Linked DNA regions of Homo sapiens: region 1 is linked to region 2. Evidence: promoter capture Hi-C in human tissues and cell types (Jung and others, 2019). All regions are on one chromosome and are shown on one strand. Each heading gives the region's core, a stretch centred on a gene start or on the middle of the fragment in contact. The rest is flanking DNA. Distances are from core to core; before and after follow the strand shown.

Evidence for each region. The method cuts DNA at HindIII sites, captures the fragments that hold promoters and counts their contacts. A contact is called where the count stands out against the background at its distance.
Region 1: a fragment that was not itself captured here is called in contact with the fragment with the promoter of PODN in region 2 in 1 of the 25 tissues and cell types used here (adrenal gland).

What each region holds. Positions count from the first base shown.
Region 1 is chr1:53,001,026-53,007,505 of GRCh38, reverse strand. All of the region lies in intron 11 of SCP2 (sterol carrier protein 2), which reads right to left. Among named protein-coding and RNA genes, the nearest start is that of PODN, 58 kb to the left of the region's middle. The HindIII fragment of the contact is 4,035 bases long and covers 31-4,065 here.
Region 2 is chr1:53,058,212-53,064,978 of GRCh38, reverse strand. PODN (podocan) reads right to left here and starts at 2,766. Exons shown (of 11, transcript NM_153703.5): 1 at 2,671-2,766. RefSeq lists a silencer at 2,601-2,788. The HindIII fragment of the contact is 18,135 bases long and covers 1-5,663 here.

The sequences.
Region 1 (6,480 bases), core at 799-3,298, 57 kb after region 2:
TCAGTTTCCATGTAGTTGAGCGGTTTTGAGTGAGTTTCTTAATCCTGAGTTCTAGTTTGATTGCACTATGGTCTGAGAGACAGTTTGTTATAATTTCTGTTCTTTTACATTTGCTGAGGAGTGCTTTACTTCCAACTACATGGTCAATTTTGGAATAAGTGTGATGTGGTGCTGAGAAGAATATATATTCTGTTGATTTGGGGTGGAGAGTTCTGTAGATGTCTATTAAGGCCACTTGGTGCAGAGCTGAGTTCAAGTCCTGGATATCCTTGTTAACTTTCTCTCTCGTTGATCTAATGTTGACAGTGGGGTATTAAAGTCTCCCATTATTATTGTGTGGGAGTCTAATTCTCTTTGTAGGTCTCTAAGGACTTGCTTTATGAATCCGGGTGCTCCTGTATTGGGTGAATATATATTTAGGATAGTTATCTCTTCTTGTTGAATTGATCCCTTTATCATTATGTAATGGCCTTCTTTGTCTCTTTTGATCTTTGTCGGTTTAAAGTCTGTTTTATCAGAGACTAGGATTGCAACCCCTGCTTTTTTTTGTTTTCCATTTGCTTGGTAGATCTTCCTCCATCCCTTTATTTTGAGCCTATGTGTGTCTCTGCACGTGAGATGGGTCTCCTGAATACAGCACACTGATGGGTCTTGACTCTTTATCCAATTTGCCAGTCTGTGTCTTTTAATTGGAGCATTTAGCCCATTTACATTTAAGGTTAATATTGTTATGTGTGAATTTGATCCTGGTCATTATGATGTTAGCTGGTTATTTTGCTCATTAGTTGATGCAGTTTCTTCCTAGCATCAATGATCTTTACAATTTGGCATGTTTTTTCAGTGGCTGGTACCAGTTGTTCCTTTCCATGTTTAGTACTTCCTTCAGGAGCTCTTGTAAGGCAGGCCTGGTGGTGACAAAATCTCTCAGCATTTGCCTGTGTGTAAAGGATTTTATTTCTCCTTCACTTATGAAGCTTAGTTTGGCTGGATATGAAATTTTGGGTTGAAAATTCTTTTCTTTAAGAATGTTGAATATTGGCCCCCACTCTCTTCTGGCTTGTAGAGTTTCTGCCGAGAGATCCGCTGTTAGTCTGTTGGGCTTCCCTTTGTGGGTAACCCGACCTTTCTCTGTGGCTGCCCTTAATATTTTTTCCTTCATTTCAACTTTAGTGAATCTGACAATTACGTGTCTTGGAGTTGCTCTTCTCGAGGAGTATCTTTGTGGCGTTCTATGTATTTCCTGAATTTGAATGTTGGCCTGCCTTGCTAGGTTGGGGAAGTTCTCCTGGATAATATCCTGAAGAGTGTTTTCCAACTTGGTTCCATTCTCCCCCTCACTTTCAGGTACACCAGTCAGACGTAGATTTGGTCTTTTCACATAGTCCCATATTTCTTGGAGGCTTTGTTCATTTCTTTTTATTCTTTTTTCTCTGAACTTCTCTTCTCACTTCATTTCATTCATTTGATCTTCAATCACTGATACCCTTTCTTCCACTTGATCAAATCGGCTACTGAAGCTTTGGCATGTGTCACATAGTTCTTGTGCCATGGTTTTCAGCTCCATCAGGTCATTTAAGGTCTTCTCTATGCTGTTTATTCTAATTAGCCATTCGTCTAATCTTTTTTTCAAGGTTTTTAGCTTCTTTGCGATGGGTTTGAACATCCTCCTTTAGCTCAGAGAAGTTTGTTATTACCGATCATCTGAAGCCTTCTTCTCTCAACTCATCAAAGTCACTCTGCGTCCAAATTTGTTCCATTGCTGGTGAGGAGCTGTGCTCCTTTGGAGGGAAGAGGCACTCTGATTTTTAGAATTTTCAGCTTTTCTGCTCTAGTTTCTCCTCATCTTTGTGGATTTATCTACCTTTGGTCTTTGATGATGGTGACGTACAGATGGGGTTTTGGTGTGAATGTCCTTTCTGTTTGTTAATTTTCCTTCTAACAGTCAGGACCCTCAGCTGCAGGTCTGTTGGAGTTTGCTGGAGGTCCACTCCAGACCCTGTTTGCCTGGGTATCACCAGCGGAGACTGCAGAACACCAAATATTGCAGAACAGCAAATGTTGCTGCCTGATCCTTCCCTTGGATGCTTCATCTCAGAGGGACACCCGGCTGTATGAGGTGTTGGTCAGCCCCTACTGGGAGGTGTCTCCCAGTTAGGCTACTCGGGGGTCAGGGACCCACTTAAGGCAATCTGTTCATTCTCAGATCTCAAACTCCATGCTGGGAGAACCATTACTCTCTTCAAAGCTGTCAGACAGGGACGTTTAAGTCTGCAGAAGTTTCTGCTGCCTTTTGTTCAGCTATGCCCTGCCCCAAGAAGTGGAGTCTACAGAGGCAGGCGGGCCTCGTTGAGCTGCGATGGGCTCCACCCAGTTCAAGCTTCCCAGCCACTTTGTTTACCTACTCAAGCCTCAGCAAAGGCGGATGCCCCTCCCCAAGCCTCGCTGTCACCTTGCAGTTTAATCTCAGACTGCTGTGCTAGCAGCAAGCGAGGCTCCATGGGTGTGGGACCCTCCAAGCCAGGCATGGGATATAATCTCCTGGTGTGCCATTTGCTAAGACCATTGGAAAAGCGCAGTATTAGGGTGGGAGTGTCCCAATTTTCCAGGTACCATCTGTCACGGCTTCCCTTGGCTAGGAAAGGGAATTCCCCAACCTCTTGCACTTCCCGGGTGAGGCAATGCCCTGCCCTGCTTCAGCTCATACTCCGTGGACTGCACCCACTGTCCGACAAGCCCCAGTGAGATGAACCTGGTACCTCAGTTGGAAATGCAGAAATCACCCATCTTCTGCGTCACTCACGCTGGGAGCTGTAGACTGGAGCTGCTCCTATTTGGCCATCTTGGAACCTTCTTAAAGGCAGGGAGGGTATACCCTACAAAGTACATTCACAAGGGCGGTGAATATCACAAAATACATTATCGCAAGGGTGGGGAGGATGTATTGTCACAAAGTCAATTGATCAGTTAGAGTGGGGCAGGAACAGATCACAATGGTGGCATGTCATCAGTTAAGGCAGGAACTGACTATTTTCACTTCTTTTGTGGATCTTCAGTTGCTTCAGGCCATCTGGATGTATACGTGCAGGTCACAGGGGATATGATGGCTTAGCTTGGGCTCAGAGGCCTGACAAAATTATCTATCACATGTAAAATATATTTCAAAAAAAAGTAAAATACAGTAGTGCCCTCACATCCATGGTTTCACTTTCCACAGTTTCAGTTACCCTCAGTCGATTACAGTCTAAAAATATTGAATAGAAAATGCCAGAAATAAACAATTCATAAGTTTTAAGTTGCATGCTGTTCTGAGTAGCATGATAAAATCTCGCACCATTCAGCTCCACCCCACCTGGGATGTGAATCATCCCTTTGCCCAGCATATCCAAGTGGTACATCCCACCCACCCGTTAGTCAGTTAGTAGCTATCTTTGTTATTAGAATGACTGTGATGGGTACTGTGATGGGTACTGCTCGTGTTCAAGTCATCCTTAGTTTACTTAATGATGGCCCCAAAGCGCAAGAGGAGTGAAGTGGCGATTCAGATGTGCATACAAGTGCTTCCTTTAAATGAAAAGGTGGAAGTTCCCAACTTTAAGGGAAAAAAATGGCATGCTGAGGTTGCTAAGATCTACAGTAACAATGAATTTTCTATCCGTGAAATTGTGAAGAAAGAAAAAGGGGCTGGGTGTGGTGACTCACGCCTGTAATCCCAGCTTTTGGGGAGGCCAAGGAGAGAGGACCACTTGAGCCCAGGAGTTTGAGACCAGCCTGGGAAGCATAGGGAGACCCCATCTCTACAAAAGAAAAAATAAAATAAAATTAGCTGGGCATGATGGTGTGCACCTGTGGTCCCAGCTACTTGGGAGACTGAGGCGGGAGGATCACTTGAGCCCAGGAAGTAGAGACTGCAGTAAGCATGTTTGCACCATGTTTGCACTGCACTTCAGCCTGGGCAACAGAGGAAGACTCTATCTCAAAAAAAGAAAAAGAAGGCATGATGGCTCATGCCTATAATCTCAGCACTTTGGAAAGCCAACATGGGCAGATTGCTTTATCCCAGGAGTTCGAGACCAGCCTAAGCAACATGGCGAAAGCCCGTCTCTACCAAAAATGTAAAAAATTAGCCAGGTATGAAGGTGCGTGCCTGCAGTCCCAACTACTTGGGAGACTGAGATAGTAGAATCATTTGAGCCCAAGAAATCGAGGCTACAATGAGCCATGATCATGCCACTGCACTCCAGCCAGAGCAACAGAGCGAAATCCTGGTTTCAAAAATAAAAAAAGAAAAGAAATAGAAACAGAAATTCAGGGCTTTCTCCTAGTTATCTCTAGCTAGCAACAGGTATCTAGAGTAGACACCATCTCCTGGGCTCCATTTGTCCTGGCACAGATAGAGTTTAATGATAAAATTTACCTCTCCTCACATTGCAGTGGTAAAAATGCAAAACTCTGGGCAATGGAAACAAGGATGGGTGGCCTGGAGGATATGATGAAAGGTAAAAAAGAAATTTTGGTGAAAAGCTAATTAGCTCTTACTGACTTGCTGGCTTTTTAAGAGTTTATATTGGATTTAGGCCTTACCAGTCATCGTCCTAGGATTTATTTTGGCAACCTCTTACAGAGTAGACGAGATAAGCCATGGTTTGATTTGAAAATGCTCGGTCCCTTGGTTAAAATTCCACTTCTTCTCACATCATTTTCACCCAAATTCTTAAGACCTAAGAAGTTTATAATGCCTTTAAAAGTACTGAAACATGTAAACAAAAATCACAGGATAGAATAATAATATACGTGTCATTAGAAACATCAAGAACTATGTGAATGCAGAAAAAGAAATAATTACTTCGCACAGGAGATCAGAGCATCTTATAATAGAATTGAAAAGGATCTATGAATTCATCAAATCTAAGGCCCAACAGATGGGCAAAATTCTCCTTACAACATTCCTATCAAGTTGTTACATGTATTTTTTGTGCACAGCCTCTCTGACAGGTAAATGCATGCTCTCAGGAGGCAACCTATTCCATTTTTGAGAAGCCATGTTAGAAAGTTCTCTTGTATCCGGCCAAAATATAACTTCCAATGAATTCTTCCTAATGATCCTAATTCTTCCCACATTAAACAAATGTATTCCCTTTGCTCCATGCCACGTTCTAGATGTTAAAGGAGCAATAATATATTCAACTATCCCTTTAAATATGCAATGTATTGCACACTGTTCAAGGTAGAGAGACAAATGAAATATGAATCCTGACTTCATAGGCTCTTAAATAGGGAAGATATTTTTTTCTTTTTTCTTTCTTTGTTTTTTTTTTTTTTGAGACGGAGTCTCACTCTGTCACCCAGGCTGGAGTGCAGTGGCGTGATCTCGGCTCACTGCAAGCTCCGCCGCCTCCCAGGCTCACGCCATTCTCCTGCCTCAGCCTCCTGAGTAGCTGGGACTACAGGCGCCTGCCACCACACCCAGCTAATTTTTTGAATTTTTAGTAGAGACGGGGTTTCACCATGTTAGCCAGGATGGTCTCGATCTCCTGACCTCATGATCCACCCATCTTGGCCTCCCAAAGTGCTGGGATTACAGGCATGAGCCACCGCACCCAGCCTAAATAGGGAAGATTTTTTTAAAGCCTATAAATAATGATAATATATACTATGAGCATAAATGTCAAAAGAAAAGTACTGAGAAAGTATAGGAGTTCAGAAAAGGGAAAGATTAATTCAATCTATGGAAAGAATCAGTGAAACAGGAAAAGCTTCATAAGGTGGATAGCATTTGAGAGAGCACTTGAAGATGGGCGTTTCCAGTGAGGAAAGGACACTGAAGAACAGTATAATGGTTAAGACCCTGGACGCTAGGAATACATAGCCTGTGTTTGAATCTTAGCTTTGCCACTCTCTAGCTTGATGACTTCATGCAAATCATTTAAACTCTCCATGCCTCTATTTTCTTCTTTTGTAAAAGAGAAAAATCGATATGAAAATTGAATGCACTTGTACATGAAGTATACTTAGAACAGTGTATTATTATTGAGAAAATAACAAAGGTAGAGTTTGTATAGGCAAGAAGGAATTAAACCTGTTTGGTAAAAGCAAACAGTTTGGTTTAAACATGCTTCCTCTTTGTGCATCTCCTTCCCCAAAACTCAAGTAGATAGAAATGCTGGCAAAACACCAGGCATGTGATGGGATTTAGCAAATCTTCATGACCCTGCCATCCTCCTTTCCCTTTTTCTCCTCTTCATACTTCTGCTTTGTACTTCTTCTACAGCACATTCTGCCTTGTATTATAATTACTTATTTAAATATATAAGTATTTGTGTTCTTGTATTATCTGCCTCTTATACACTTCCTGAGACTAGTAGTTACCTTGTATATCCTAACCCTAGCCCTCAAATCTGGCTATGCATGAGAAGCTCTGGCGGAACTTTAAAAAAATATAAATTGTTTAGGACCAACCCAGACCCAAGAAAATGTCTAAGG
Region 2 (6,767 bases), core at 1,517-4,016:
CAGGAGTTTCAAGTCCACCTGGTGAGGAACATCTCAAACCCCTGGACAGCGGGGAAGCTCAGCCAGCAGTGAGTGTTTCTCATATGGAGAGCTTTAGAGACAGAAGGGCATGGGTTCCAATTCTGACTGCTGTGTAAGCCTGGATGAGCCACTTTACTGCTCCGAGCCTCTGTTAACTAGTCTAAGAAATGGAGTTGGGAGCTACTTGTGAGAATTAAATGAAATAGCAGTCTCAGCCTGTCACCGCTGGCATCAAATAGGTGTGACATACCAGGGGTTACTGTTACTGAGAAAGTAAGTGGGACCCACTGTCTCCCCTGACCACTACCAGGGAACCAAACCTCAAGGCCCAAAGTGTGAGGTTAAGGTAGGACTAGAAGAAGGAAGGGAAAGGGAGCCCCAAATCAAGAGGCGGATCCTCAGCCCTCAGCACTACCTTCCTTCTCCACTCAAAGTCAGTACAAATCAACTGACCACCTGCTCTGTGCTGGGCCCCAAACAGCTGCATCTTATTGACTCTAATAGAAATCCTGGGACTACATGTTCGTCTTTCTATTCTGCAGATTTGGAGCTCAAGCACAAAGGGCTGGCATTGCTGCCCATCCCTAGAAAGCTCCTGCTGAAATGCCCCTGCTCAGGGAAGCCTCTCCTGCCCCCTTGGCTGGGTTAGGGTGTTTCTGGGTGCTTCCACAGCAACCTTGGCTGGCTTTATCCTTCAAGTCTCAGCTGGGCCTCCCCTGTCTCCCCAAGCATGGAGTGGGGGTGCTGGGGAAATGTTTGCTGAATGAACGACTTTGTGAAAGGCAGAGTTGGAAAAGATCTAAAGATCTGCAGTATGATCTGCTCTGACTCCCCCAGTTTGCAAATTAGTGTGTTAAAGCCAAGGCCAAGAGTAAAATGTGGGTCTTCTGACTCCTGCCCAGAGCCTTGAGTTGGCCTTGAAGACTGAGCGGGAGTTCTCCAAGTGGACGGAGTGGGAGAAACAGCCCTCCAGGCAGAGGTAGAGTGTGATCAAAAGGTAGGGGTGGGGCTAGAGGAGAGGGACGTGTGTTTAAGGAAGGGTCAACAGGGCGGGAGGCCTGGGTGGCCAAGGGCCTCCACCGCCATGCTAGTGTTGGTGATAGGGACTCATTAAGGGTTCCAAGCAGGACACGGCCAGCACTCGCATGTATGACTACACCAAGCCTAAAAGTGCCACCATTAGTAATCCCCTATCCTAGACTCAGACAGAAGGGATAAAGTGTGCTCCCACAGATGACATGAAAACAGTCGTGTGACTCTGACATTTCTTAACTTGCACTCTAGGCTAGAGTAGACTGGGTCTTGGGCCCTAAGAGTGGACATGAGGGAGCAGAACCCCCAGAGCAGTCCCCCCTGGTCTTTCCCAGGGCAGTCCACGGGCTCTTCTGAGTGACCTACCTCGGAATGCTGTGCGCCTGCAGATCAGCCGGCCTCCTTGCTCACCATGAGCCCTCCTGCCTCGCCGCTGCCTTCCCAGTGTGGAAGGTTTCTATATAAAGGAGGGATAGGGGACGGGACCACCCAGGGGCTCTCCCGGTTCACACCAGTGGCGCCTCGTGGAGCAGGGCAGACCACAGCTTCCCCTTCCCTGGCCAGCCGGTAATCGAAGGGCAGACAGGTCAGTAATTCACTCCAAGCGCTGGGTGAGCATCCTCCGCGCCTCCCGGACCAGCTCAGTCAGTGCCGCGCGCACCGGGGCCGGGGTGCTCGCCCCTTGCTGCCGCGCCTGCTCCTCTCCAAAAGGCTGCGGCTGCCTCTCCTAGCCCCAGCCCCCGAGGCTGCCAGGAGCCTCGCAGCCCCGCCACCACCTCCTCTTCCACCTGACGGAGCGTCAGGTATTCCAACGCCAAGATCTCGTCCCCCGCCCCAGGCCGGGCTGTGGCTCGGGGACCTGGAACCTGGGGCTTCTGCCTCATTCGCAGGAAGGCGCGGATCTCGCTCCTCGCGCTTCGCGGACCCCCACCCCTTCCTCCCTCCAGCTGTCCCGGCTGGGAAGCAGCCGCGTAGACAGATAGACGGACTCCAGACCGCCAGCTGAGACCTTTAGCTCAACTAGTGGTTGGCACTAAGCTGGGGCGGCACAGTGGCCGGGGAAGCCGAGCCCCGGAGGGGACCCACCCGGCGTCCGACGCGCCCTGGGGCCAGACCTCTGCCCCTCTCTGGGCCTCAGTTTCTCTATCTATAAAGAGGTGGAGGTTGGAGTCGCTAGGGGGCCTGATGAGTTGACGTGGAAAGACGCGGGGATACTTCGGGCCCAGGCTCTCATGACAGGGGTCCCCGCCCCTACGCAGTTCCACCTGCCCCCCACATTCCCTGTCGCCCGCCGGCGTCCTCCCACTCCAGCCCCCGCCCCCAACCGCCCTCAGATTCTTTCCAGATGTGCGCAGCGGGAGGGGCCTGGGGACGGGGACCAGCCTCTGCTCAGAGAGGAGAAGGCCCCTGCCTGGGTCCTGACTGCGCAGGGGTCGCACTCCAGAGGAGGAGATCTCCGGCCGTGCCCTGGGTGCAGGGTCCTACAGAGGGGGTGAGATGCGGCGGGCCCGCCCCAGGCAGCTGCTGGAGCCATCCGGAGAGGCGGGGACGTCTGAGTGCGCTGCCCGGGCTCAGCCCCCGGCCCCTCGGCCCACCCCGGCTGCCAGCGCCCTGTACCTGCTGCGCCCCGGCGCCGAGCGGCGCCCCACAGGCCGAACGCGCTCCCCCAGTCTCAGCTGCGCTCCGCGGGCTCGGGCTCCTTCCATTCAAGTCAAGCTGGGCGCTCTCCGCGACGCAAGTTTTGTTGTGGGTTTTCTCCTCCCCGCCTCTCTCCCGCCCCCTTCCCCCACTCCCCACCCGCCCCGGGAGCATCTGCTGGACGCCGGCCTCCTTCGGACACAGGCGTAGGGTCCCCCCAGGCGCGGGCAGGAGAAAGCCTGCCCCTCCCCGCTCGGGACTTGGCCGGTTCCCACTTCCCGGGGAGGCAGAGCCGCCGCACCGACCCCTCTCAGCCCCGGCCGCCGCACCACGCCCCCCGAACCCCCACCCGGGAGACCGGGAAGGCGGGCTGTCTGGTCCGCGACGCTTCCTAGTTCCCAGCCTTCCGCACTGGAACTGGACCCCCTTTAGGCCCCGACACCTGAAAGGAGGGCTGGGGAGAGGGGTCCTTCGACCCAGTGCCTCTGAGCTGTATCTTCCTCATTACAGAGGATGTTGCAACCGCTCCAGGCACGAGTACCTTTCCGTTCACTCTCCCACCCTGGGGTCCTGGGCCGTGGCTAATGGGGCCGCCAGCCAAGACCCTGCTGGGCCTCTTCCCGGAAAAGTTCCCCACGCTCCACCCCACCCTCCACTCCCATCCCTGTTGGCCCTGGGCCCACAGCCTGGTGAGCCTTGAAGAATGGTAAATTGGGCCGGAGTCGGGGACATGCAGATCCCAGTCACAGAGAAACAGGGCGGGTGAACAGTGAGACCTCACACCACCATATTGCTCCCAGGAACTGAAAATGTTTCCAAGTAAAGGAGTATTAACTACTACCAGCTGAAGCAACACTGTTTGGCGCCAGGGGCTTCGGCGGTGGAACAGGCAATGCGGCTGGGCTTAGGTGGTACTTGGCACCTCCACTGTGTAGCAAGCCTCCTCCCCTTACCTGCTCTGGCCTGTGGGCAGGGCATCCACAGCTGCCTCACCTGGCTGTCCTCCCACTGAAGAGGGAGAAGGATGCATAAGTCACACGTGGGACCCCTTGCTCAACCTTAACCTGAATGAATGAATGAATGAATGGCCCCTGTAAAGCAGCTCCAGACTTTTCACTGGCTGCCGCCCCCGTGAGGTTATACCATATGCATTATGCTCTGCTTCACAACTCCGCAAAGGAAGAACTGCTGCTGCCCCACTTTATAGAAAAGAGATGGCCTCAGAAAGGATACTTGACTGAGTAAAATGCCCATTCACTGGCAGAGCTGGGGTTTTGACCCCAGGTTTACCCTTCTCCACAGCCCAAGTTCTTCCCATGATGGAAACAGGCAGGTAACTTGAGCAGGCAAATGTAGAGTCTAGATTTGAACCCAGGACTGTCTGTTTCCATTACACCAACAACCCAAGAACTTAGCAAGAATGGGGAGGGAAAATATTTTGCCTTCTTTGGCCTCAAATTCCAGTCCTTTTGGAGCTCAAACTCACAAGAGTTGGTGTGATTCACAGCATTGGACCTGGACCAACAGAGATGCATCTCGTGTCTTCTCCTGAACATTGAGCCTAGATTCAAGTAGAGCTAAAAGGACAGGATTCTACTAGCTTGAATACTCATGGACTAAAAATCTTTTAGGACAATGAGAGCCAGCACATATTGAGTGCCTAATAAATGACAGGCACCATCCTAAATCCTTAAAATATCTTAATCATCCTAGCCCTGTGGGGAAGATATTCTCTATACTTATAACTGCTAAGGCCAAGGTGTTTCAGGGGCCCGCTACACGGCACACCACACACCCAGTACCCACCACCTCCCAGAGAAATAGGCTTTTCTATGGAATGCTGAGCAAATGCCCATGTGTGCTTTGTGGTTGGCTGCTACTATAGATACAAGCTGCAGGAGGAATCACTTTGAGTGTCTCTGGTGGAAAAATGGAGGCAACCTTGGTGCTCTAGAAGCAAATCCTCTTTCAGAAGGATTGTAAAGGCAGAGTTTGAAATTGAGGTTTCCTGAATCTACTTGTGCTGCTTCAATTCCTTCATGCTGCCCCTCAATTTCAGCTCCTGTTTGATATTACTGAAGTACATAGTGTCAAGTACAAGCTTTAAGCTTGGAGCTGGGTTCAAATCCTAGCTAGGTTCAAATGAATATAAAAATAGTACCTACACTTCACAGTATGTCTAAATTGGAGAATGCAAGTACAGAACTTTACATAGTACCTGTCACATGGTAAGTGCTCAGTAAATGGTAGCTATTACTGCAAAACTATCACCCAGACCTGACCAAATAGCCAGGAAACATTATTAAAATAGAAATGACAAGTGGCAAGAATTAAACAGTAACCTCTGTACTGCCCAGGGAAAGTGCCTTCTAATTCAAAACAATAAGAAACAAGAACACTCCAAAGAGGAGGGAGGAAAGACATACATTGATACGGTAGAGAGAGCTAGGAGTAAAGAACAAGAAGGCTCTCAGTGGGGTTTGATGATGAGAAACAGGAGATGAGGAACAATGAGCTCTTGTTATGCCTCATCATCAAAGAAGAAAATAATTCCTCCTACTTTGAGCTGAGGGCTGAGATCTTATTAAGCAGTAGAGTCCCAAATAGCTATGGCAGCAGCTTGATTTTCTGGACATTTAAGGAATCAAATCACATGGTGGTGTTTGGGGTATATGAATTCCATCTGAAGGACCTTGATGAAGGCAAGACTCTCCAGGGAACAAGAAGAGAATAATGAAAAATCTTCAGTCCAAGTCAAGTACACAAGGAGTCTCCTGGGCTGCTATAACATCTCATACAGACTCTTTATTATTGGAACTTTCTTGCTGTTTTTCCTCTTTCTCCCACTGGATTGTGAGTCCTCCAGGGCAAGAATCTCATGTTCTGCAAGCTCTCCTCTCTCACCCTAAAATACCACTGTGATAGGCAGAATACCCCCCAACCCCGCCCCAAAGATATCCACACCTTAATCCCTAAAACCTTTGGATATGTTACATGATGAAAGTGACTTTGCAGATGTAACTAAGGTTACGGACTTCAAAATAGGGAGCATATTCTGGATTACCCTGGTGGGCCTAATCACATGAGCCCTAAAAAACAGAGAACTTTCTCTAGCTGGAGAGAGAGAAGATGAAGCAGAAGAGGAGGTCAGAGAGATTTGAAACATCAGAAGGACTTGACTAGCTTTAAAGATGAAGAGGGTCATAAGCTAGGGAATAAGGCAGCCTCTAGAAAGTGAAACACCCGTAGGCTGCCAGGAATGGTACAGGGACTTCAGTCCTACAGCGGCATGAAACAGAATTCTGCCAGCATCTGAATGAATGTGGGAGCAGAGCCACCTTCTCCCCTGGAGCCTCTAGATAGGAGCCCAGGGCAGCAATACTTTGACTTCAGCCTTGTGAGACCCAGAGCAAAGAAACCAGTCAAACTCAACCAGACTTCTAGGCTACAGAACCGTTAGATAATAAATTTATGATCACTACTTTGTGATCATTTGTTTCATCAACAATAGAAAATAAAACAAACATGAATAACTAAAACTGGTACACACTTTCCCACACACTGTTTCACTTGATCTTCACAGCAAACATGATGGTATTATTGCCCCATTATTTTGGAAAAGGGGTGCTCAGGGAGGATATGCAACTTGCTCAGGTGACCCAGCTAATGAGTGCTTGAGTCAGAATTCAAACTCAGTCTTCAGGTTCCAACTCCAGTGAGAGTTGTCTCCCACACTGTAGCCAGCCAACTAGCTGTTACCTTAAGCTAAATAAAAATGGATGAAAAAAAGACAAAAAACAAATTCAGACTACTTTCATACTACAAAAACTTGAAGCTTTTGAATTCTCATTTCTTTTGAAGACTGTTTCTTCCAAAGGTATGTCATGTTTCTTCCAAATTAAGTTATGAACCAGTCAGGGTATAAACAAGTAAGCAAAAAGATCTCAAGTCTTCTTTCTAGCATATAGAAGAAAAAAAGATTTTGGTAACTGCAAACGGAGAAACCCTCAAGAGCGGCTGTCAATGAAATACCACTTTCTCCTGTTCAGATGATCTTTCAGCCACTATTAAGGTAC